Linked DNA regions of Homo sapiens: region 1 is linked to region 2. The links are contacts of gene promoters, found by promoter capture Hi-C in human tissues and cell types (Jung and others, 2019). All regions are on one chromosome and are shown on one strand. The core of a region is centred on a gene start or on the middle of the fragment in contact, and the rest is flanking DNA. Distances in the headings are between cores, read along the strand shown. Region 1 overlaps PRKCB (protein kinase C beta). Region 2 holds the start of CHP2 (calcineurin like EF-hand protein 2).

Region 1 (4,347 bases), core at 772-3,271, 100 kb after region 2:
ATTCTTACCCCATCACCATGTCCCAAGATAATTTTTATTATCATCTTTCAGCTTTAACATATCACAGACAAAAGTTATTTTTCCAAATAGAATTTTAAGTATGGTATAAGAGGTTTTTAGAAATGGAATGATTGGTTTTGGCGGAACTGCCTGGCCTGACCTGTCACTCGGGTGAAGTGTCAGAGAGCTGTGTCGAATGCTGGCGGAGAACTGTCCCTCTCCTGCAGAGAGAAGGAGCTGCTTATCCTGGGGGATAATGTGGGTTGAGAAAGAAGTGTTTTATGAGCAGAATCAGCACAGAGGGAGGGAGGAGGAGGTGTTTAGGGGCTGCAGAGAGCCGCCAGAAGATGTGGGAACAGTATGCCAGCACGGAGGTGGGTCAGATCCCCATGGTGGGACTCTGCTGAGGGTTGCCTCCAGCCGAGACTTCCAAGGGCTGGGATTCAGTGTGTGTTTATGTTCTCTGGTGTGCCTGATAGGTGGGGGCCCACATGACAGCTGGCCTCTCTGTGTTTCCCTTCTGGCCGTCTCTGATTTGGGGCCCAAGGGCCATAGGGGGGCCAGGGCACTCCAGATGGGACGAAAAGTCAAGTCCAAGAAAAAAATGAAATCCGGGCTAGGCTTGTCCCTGCTTGAGGATGTGAGAGAGAGAGAGAGAGTGTGTGTGTGTGTGTGGGTGTGTGCGCACGTGCGTCTGCAGTCCCTAGAAGGATCTCTATTCATTGGACAGAGAGGCCAAGGGAATTTTCCATTTCCTGGATGTCTTCAAAGATTTCAAATGCCATTAACTTGAGCTGACATTTATTGAGTACTCACTCGGTGACTGGCACTGTTCTAAGTACTTTACATGTATTAACTTATTTAATCCTCACAACAGCCCTGTGTGGCTGCTACTGTTATTGTTGCCATTTTATGCTGAGAAAACAGCACAAAGAATTGAGAAATTTTTCCAAAGTTACAGTTAGGATTCAAAAATAGACTTGGTTTTAGGATTGTGTAACTTCAGAATTGATGGTGACAATGACGTTGATGATGAGGATGATGATGATGATGATGAAGGCAGCTAATATTTCAGTGTCTGCAATGAGCTGGGCATTTTCACAAACTTTATCCCTTTGAATCTTTACCTTCCACTAAGATTTGCTGCTATTCTTATCCCTTTTGTAGATAAGAAAGCAAGCTTAGAGAAGATAAAACATTTGCTTAAGTAACTGCAGAGCGTAGATTGAATTCAGGTCCATTCGAGTCAGACTGTCTGTTCACCAAGGTGAAGGGCTCCGGGGGTCACAGAGGAGCACCATGGTGAGGAAGGCCCCGTAAGAGTGTGGCAGAATGGCAACCAGGAAGGATCTGGTATACGGGATGGTGATAAGGCCCATCTCTCATGGCCAGGAAAGTGTGCCTGCCACAGCAATGAATGAAACTGGCAACATTTGACAGGAAGGGGAAATTCTCTAGTGGGAGGAATACTTCCATCAAACTGTTTTTTTTTTTTCCCAGTGGGGGAGTTTGCACATGTGTAGATTTTTTTAGCCATAGCCTTGAATAAGGAATTCAGAAAGTGGCTTCTAGTTTGAGGACTTTCATTGGCCACGTGATCACAGTAGGCTGATTTCTTCATGCCTAAGTTACCAGGCTGGGAGGACAGGCTGAGAACTATGCAAGCTGTTGAGTCACTTGGAAGGAAGAGGGTTACATACAGCAGGCACTTTCATGGAATAATACTTCCCTGAAGAGCTGCACTAATTTATTGAGGCACTGAGCTGGATGCTTCACACACATGATCTCATTGAATGTCCACAGCACCCTAGGAGGTTGATCTCATTATTAACTTCATGAAGTGACTGAGGCTTAGAGATATTAAATAGCTTCCAGCCTGGGAAACATAGTGAAACCCCATCTCTGCAAAGAATAAAAAAAAATGAGCTAGGTGTGGTGGCTCGTGCTTATATTCACAGCTACTTAGGAGGCTGAGGTGGGAGGATCCCTTGAGCTTGTGAGGGTTGAGGCTGTAGTGAGCTTTGATGGCACCACTGCACTCCAGTCTGGGTGACAGAGTGAGACCCTCTCTCTAAACAAACAAATCCCAGGAGACATTAATTAACTTGCCACTGGTCTCTAAGCTAAGTAGTTGAAGAGGGCAACAAACCCAGGTGGTCTGACTCCTAGGCTTGAAGGTCCAGGTTCAGCTACTCCACCAGTATCCCTGGTCAGTCTTTGGCCAGGGCACAGAAGGTGGCATATCAAGTTGTGGGGTCTGATTTGGAAAGTGTGAGATCCCTCCTTTGTATCTTTTCCAAAGTCCACTCAGAAGAGAGTAGTGTAAAAGGAGTGATAGCACAGCGTGGTCTGGCTGGCATAGTCAGCCGCCCTGTGATGGGCAGGGGGAAGCTGCTTTCTGTCCTCAAGCAGCCCCTAAACTTGTAGGCCAGACTCATAAATCACACATTGATAACTCAGTGTGATGTGTGCTGTAATGGTGGAGAGGGGGGAGAAATGCCAGGAGCAGCTCACCTCCCAGGGTCCTGGGGAGGCTGCACAGAGGAGCCTGAGTTCTCAGTTGGGTTTTGAGGCAGAGGAAGCAGTGAAAGAGAGAGGAAGAATGTCAGTGAGGTGCGGGGAGAAGCAAGAGAGAGAAGACACTTGGCAGGAAGAAGTAGTTGAAGTACCCGGGGATGTTTAGCTTGAAGAATAGAAAATTTGGAGGAGGCAGAGAAAAGGCAGGAAACTTTAAAAGCAGGAGAGAAAGACCTCCAGGTTCCCAAAGGGAGCATGGCACTTCTCAAGGGGGTGAGGTTGACAGCATTAGGAGAGAGAGAGAGAGAAAGAGAGAGAGAGAAAGAGAGAGAGCGAGAGAGTTGTCAAGGAAGGGAAGGACCCATGGAGGGGAGAGCACAGGTGAAAATGAGAAGTGATGGGAAAATGGGTGGGAAATAAATGAAGTTTTGAGGCCAGTTGAGAAATCTTGCTTGGTGGTTTCTATTTTCTTTGTGAAGCAGAAAAAAAGAGGAATTAGACAGACCTGCATTCAAATCTCATGACCCCAGGCAAATTTCTTATCCTTAGCTTCTTCATTTTGAAAAAGGGGTGAATGATAATAGGACCTACCTAATAAGAGTTGTCAGGATCAAATATGTTAGTGCTTGTGTAAGATGCAGTGGCACCCTGGCACTTAGTACCAAAAAAAAGTACTATAAATGTTGTCACCTATTGAGGGAGTCCGGGTTTGGGTGCTTGATACATAGAAATATCATGAATAGCAGCAGAGAATACAAGAAGAAGAGAAAGCTTGGGGGAGAAGATAGAGAATTATGCGTTGGGTATGTTGAGGATGAGGTGCCTGTGCCATATCCGGGTGTAGGTGCCCAAAGGCAACTGGAAGTCATGAGAAGTCAGGGATAGAGGTAAATGTTTGGGAGTTGTTAATACAGGGGTGCATTTTTAAAATATCTGAAGTATGTTACTGGTGGCACTCAAAGATTTTTAATGATGTAAGGTATTCAACAACATGGAACTACGTAGTTTTAAAAGAAATTCTCTTGTAGGCCGCGTGTGGTGGCTCACACCTGTAATCCCAGCACTTTGAGAGGCCAAGGTGGGTGGATCACTTGAGGTCAGGAATTCCAGACCAGCCTGGTGAACATGGTGAAACCCCATCTCTACTAAAAAAAAAAAGAAACAAAACAAATCAAAACAAAAAAACCGGGCATGGTGGTGTGTGCCTGTACTCCCAGCTACTCGGGAGGCTGAGGCAGGAGAATTGCTTGGACCCGGAGTCAGAGGTTGCAGTGAGCCAAGATCGCGCTACTGTACTCTAGCCTAGGCAACAGAATGAGACTCAGTATAAAAAAGAAAAAAATGTTTTTTTCTTTTAATTCTTCGGGTTAAGGAGAGTGTCTTAGTTTGGTGCTATCATGTCCTAAACATCTTTCTAATGCATGCAAATCTCCCTTTTAAGCTAAAAGAATGAAGCAATCTCAGACTCAGAGCTATGTACCTGCTAGAATTTAATAATTTAAATTTTCATTGTGTTCTTCATACTCACCTTCTATTTATAGCAAGTGTTACTAGCTCTCCAATTCTGGAGGTTGTTTCAGATAGGATGCATTAGTTCTTTTTTTTTTTTTGAGACAAGGTCTTGCTCTGTCACCCAGGCTGGAGTGCAGTGGCACAAACACAGCTCACTGCAGCCTCAACCTCCCAGGCTCAAGCAAACCTCCCACTTCAGCCTCCCAGGTAGCTGGGACTACAGGCATGTCCCACCATTCCTAGCTAATTATTTTATTTTTTATAGAAACAGGGTCTCACTGTGTTTCCCAGGCTGGTCTTGAATTTGGGCTCAAGCAA
Region 2 (4,389 bases), core at 988-3,487:
TAGTCTTTGGGGGGAGTCTGAAAGAGAATCAAGCATTCCTTATGCCAGTTGCTTAATCCTTGGGGGTATCTGAAAGAAGCAAGCACTTCTTAGATCAATATTTTCAAGACTTATCTGATGCAGGCCTCTGCCTGGGGCTGGAGGATAGACTGTTTCTTCAGCTTCTCTCTCTCCAGGGTGGATATGAACTTGAGCCCTTGCAATGAACTGCTTGCATGTTTTCCCCCCTGGGAAATTTGTGTATGTATGTGCAATTATGATGGGGGAAACGGTTTAAAGATACTTTCAAAAGTGGACACTTCTAGTGTTTGTCCCTTGACAAATGAGTTTCTCGACCTGTTTTTTTTTCATTATCAACGCCTCCCCTAGTCTTTTTAATTTCCCCACCCTCACCCCTACCCCATGAAATTTTATTTTCTTTCTTTTTTTTTTTTTGAGACCAAGTTTCGATCTTTTTGCCCAAGATGGTGTGCAATGGCGCGATCTAGGCTCACCTCAATCTCCACCTCCCGGGTTCAAGCGATTCTCCTGCCTCAGCCTCCCGAGTAGCTGGAATTACAGGCATGCACCACCACGCCCAGCTAATTTTGTATTTTTAGTAGAGACTGGGTTTCTCCATGTTGGTCAGTCTGGTCTCAAACTCCTGACCTCAGGTGATCCGCCCGTCTCGACCTCCCAAAGTGCTGGGATTACAGGCATAAGCCACCGCGCCCGGCCTCTTTTCTTTTCAAGACAGGGTCTCACTCTGTCACCCAGGCTGGAGTGTAATGGCGTGATCATGGCTCCCTGCAGCCTCAACCTCCTGGGCTCAAGTGATCCTCCTGTCTCAGACTCCCAAGTAGCTGAGACTACAGGCATGTGCCACGACACCTGGTTAATTTTTTTTTTTTGTATTCTTTTGTAGAGATGGGGTCTCACTATGTTGCCTAGGCTGGTCTTGAGCTCCTGGGCTCAAGCAATCCTCCTGCCTCTACCTCCCAAAGTGCTGGGATTACAGGCATGAGCCTCCACGTCTGCCCTGAAATTTCAATATCACAGCTATACTGTATATCTATTTATGTGCTGTATGTATGCTGTGCTTTGTACATAAAAAATATGTTTTATTTTTTGCCCCGTTGGGGTGAGATAGAGACCGCACTGAGAATGCACGCTTTACATAATTAGTTCACAACTTGCCCCCGGCAGCCTCCACCACGTAAAATTAGAAGAAAGCAGCCCAGCAGGGCCTACAAGGAATGTGTGAACGGATGCACGTAAAGTGCTTAGCAAAGCGTGGTAAACAAGAGCCCTTGTTGTCATTCTTGCTTTAAGCCTAGTCCCAGTGATGTCTGTAACCCTCTCTTGGGCCAAGGAGTCCCATGGCTCTGGAGGGCTGTTCAGAGGACTAAGTCATTCCCAGTCTGGAGCTCTACGGGATCAGTAGGTACCTAAGGGAGTGAATTGGGCTTGGAGGGACTGTGGCCAGAAGACAGCTCTGGGCCTGGTGGTGATAGAACTTCTGATTTCTCAGGAAAAGCCAAGAATGTGGATTTTGGGTTAAATCTCCTGAATTTTAAGCATTGGCTCAATTAAACAACAATAAGGCAATGTGAACCGAACAAAAGGGATGAAACCAAGATTTACTGACTTTCCCAGAGTCACGGGCACGGCTGGGATTCCAACAAGGACTCCCAAACCAGTGCTCTTTCCACTTAACCTAACGCACACCCTTCATCTCGCCGCCCCTCCCCACTTCCCCGTCTTTGGGAGTTCTTCGATGCCTCTTCCCCCCTCCCCCCAGGATTCCCTCCCCATAGGCCACCCGCCTTCCAGCAGGGCGTGGTCTCTACAGAGGAGGTCAGGTCTCCCAGGCTTCCTCAGCGTCGACGCCGGGGAGCGCCCTGGGGTTGGGAGCGCCCGGGGCCCGCGAAGGAGGAGGTGGCTCAGGTGTCAGGGCGCACCGTGGGAACCGGCCCCGGGGGAGGCGTGGAAACGCGGGGCCTGGGACTCGACCAGCCTCTCCCGTGCGGATCGCAAAATCTCGGAGCTGAAACAGCCCGTTGTTCGCAGCCTCCCTCTGACCCGCCACCCTGCACATTGTTTTCCATTCGCCCGGGTCGCGGGTGGGAGGAGAGGCACGCCGGGGTTCTGGAGCTTGGCCGCGCGCCAGGCTTGTGGCCTTCGTCCCCCTGGGGCCACTGGGGCGGCCACGCCTCTCCGGCGGGAGGAGAGAACGCGTGGGTCCGGGTGGCTGCTCCGGCCCTTCCGCCTCCAGCTCGGCCATGGGGTCGCGCAGCTCCCACGCCGCGGTCATTCCCGACGGGGACAGTATTCGGCGAGAGACCGGCTGTGAGTGCGCCCGCGTCGGCGGCTGCGGAGGGGACGGGGCGAACCCAGGCGTCTGGGGCTAGGGAAGGGGTTGGGTTGAAGGATGGACGAACTTACAAGTCTGGGGTCCGGGGCTCCCCGGAGCTGGAAGACCAAGGCCCCTGTGCCTGGGATCGCTGGGTTAGGGGCGGGTTAACCTAGGGGTCCCAGCCTCCAAGTCTGGGGAGGATCCGGGTTCACGGGGTCGGAGTCCAGAGGAATCCAGGCACCCAGGTGTCCTCCAGCCCGGCTCGAAGCTGAAGGCAGAGCTGACGGCGGTTGGAAGGGATGGCTTTGGTTCTTTGGTTTTCGGGAGGTTGCGAGCCGCCCGGGTCTTGAACCTGGATCTTCGCGGGGTCGTGTCACTCTCCCTCCGCCCCGGCCAGCTCAACCCCTGATTCCCCGGGATGATCGCCCCTTCCAGCCAGCCCCCGCTGTTCTGGCCCATCTTCCTGGCCTGTTGGGGCGGGTTTCTGGAGCTGGCCCTGCAGAGTCACACACCCCCACCCCACTCTCCTTCCCGCAGTCTCCCAAGCCAGCCTGCTCCGCCTGCACCACCGGTTCCGGGCACTGGACAGGAATAAGAAGGGCTACCTGAGGTGAGGGGGAGCCGGCCTCATAACTTCTGGCCTCTGTCTCTCTGACTCCATGTCCCTCTTTGACCCTCCGTCTGGCATCTCTGCCTTACCCTCTTTGAAATTTGGCTTTGCAGCCGCATGGATCTCCAGCAGATAGGGGCGCTCGCCGTGAACCCCCTGGGAGACCGAATTATAGAAAGCTTCTTCCCCGATGGGTGAGGCTTGCTGGGCGTGGGGAGGTGAAGGCGGGAAAACCGGTGTGTGAGTGGGTGGGAGGGGAGGTTAGAGACGGAGGCAAAGTGATGGCCAAGGTGACCACCACCTCTTTCCATTCTGTCCCGTCTCCCCAGGAGCCAGCGAGTGGATTTCCCAGGCTTTGTCAGGGTCTTGGCTCATTTTCGCCCTGTAGAAGATGAGGACACAGAAACCCAAGACCCCAAGAAACCTGAACCTCTCAACAGCAGAAGGAACAAACTTCACTGTGAGTTTGTGAGGACCTGCACAAGTGAGAATGCAGATGTACCCACACCAGGGACAGGCTCCAGGGATCTCCCACTCCCTTCCTGAGGGCATTGACAACCTCCCCCCTCCTCCAAGGTGGGGGGAAGGAAGGTGGCTGCTGGAAGAGAGCCAGGGAAGACCTACCTTCCTTTCCCCCTCCCACCCTCTCCCCAGATGCATTTCAGCTCTATGACCTGGATCGCGATGGGAAGATCTCCAGGCATGAGATGCTGCAGGTTGGCAGAAAGCGAGAGCAAGAGATGTGATGTGTGAAGGATGGGATGGTTAAATGCAATGGTGTGAGAGATGGGGTGGGATGATTGGGGAACTGGGGCGCAGATAATTGGGGTATTGGTTGGGAAATGGGAATGGGTGCAGTTAGAGTGTGGGTTTGTTGGGAGTCGGAGTGGGGAGCAGTTGACTATGAGGTTGGGAATAGATCAGTGATTCTCAACTGGGGGTGATTTTGCTCCCTGAGTGAATATCTGGCAATATCTGGAGATGCTTTTTGTTGTCACAATGGGGGAGAGAGTGTGCTACTGGCATCTAGTGGGTAGAGGTCAGGAATGTGGCTATATATCATGCAATACCCAGGAGAGCCTCTTCCAACAAGGAGTTACCTGGCTCCAAATGTCAACAGTGCCAAGATTGAGAAACTCTGGAACAGATGTGATGGAATGAGGATGGAATTAGAAACCCTTAGTGGCTAAGGTGGAGAATGGTGTGGAGGATGGATGGAGGTTGGGTGATAAAGTTGGGTAATGAGTTTGAGCATATTTTGAGGGTAGTGCAGGATGGTGAGGGAGAGATAGGAGATTGGTTGTTGAAGCAGTAGGGAAAATTATTGGGGGATATGGTGAAAAATGGATGAAGGATGGATTATAAAATTAGCAATAACTTTTGGGATGAGGTGGGCAAGGTTTAGGAGATGGGGAGTTGCAGCCTTCGTGCCCCCTCCTTATGG

The links. The method cuts DNA at HindIII sites, captures the fragments that hold promoters and counts their contacts. A contact is called where the count stands out against the background at its distance.
Region 1: a contact is called between a fragment that was not itself captured here and the fragment with the promoter of CHP2 in region 2, in 2 of the 25 tissues and cell types used here (dorsolateral prefrontal cortex and pancreas).

What each region holds. Positions count from the first base shown.
Region 1 is chr16:23,857,060-23,861,406 of GRCh38, forward strand. The region is part of intron 2 of PRKCB (protein kinase C beta); the gene reads left to right. Among named protein-coding and RNA genes, the nearest start is that of PRKCB, 23 kb to the left of the region's middle. The HindIII fragment of the contact is 4,841 bases long and covers 1-4,347 here.
Region 2 is chr16:23,752,789-23,757,177 of GRCh38, forward strand. CHP2 (calcineurin like EF-hand protein 2) reads left to right here and starts at 2,238. Exons shown (of 7, transcript NM_022097.4): 1 at 2,238-2,328; 2 at 2,873-2,945; 3 at 3,059-3,139; 4 at 3,275-3,405; 5 at 3,600-3,661. The coding sequence starts at 2,262. RefSeq lists an enhancer at 2,126-2,771. The HindIII fragment of the contact is 8,876 bases long and covers 1-4,247 here.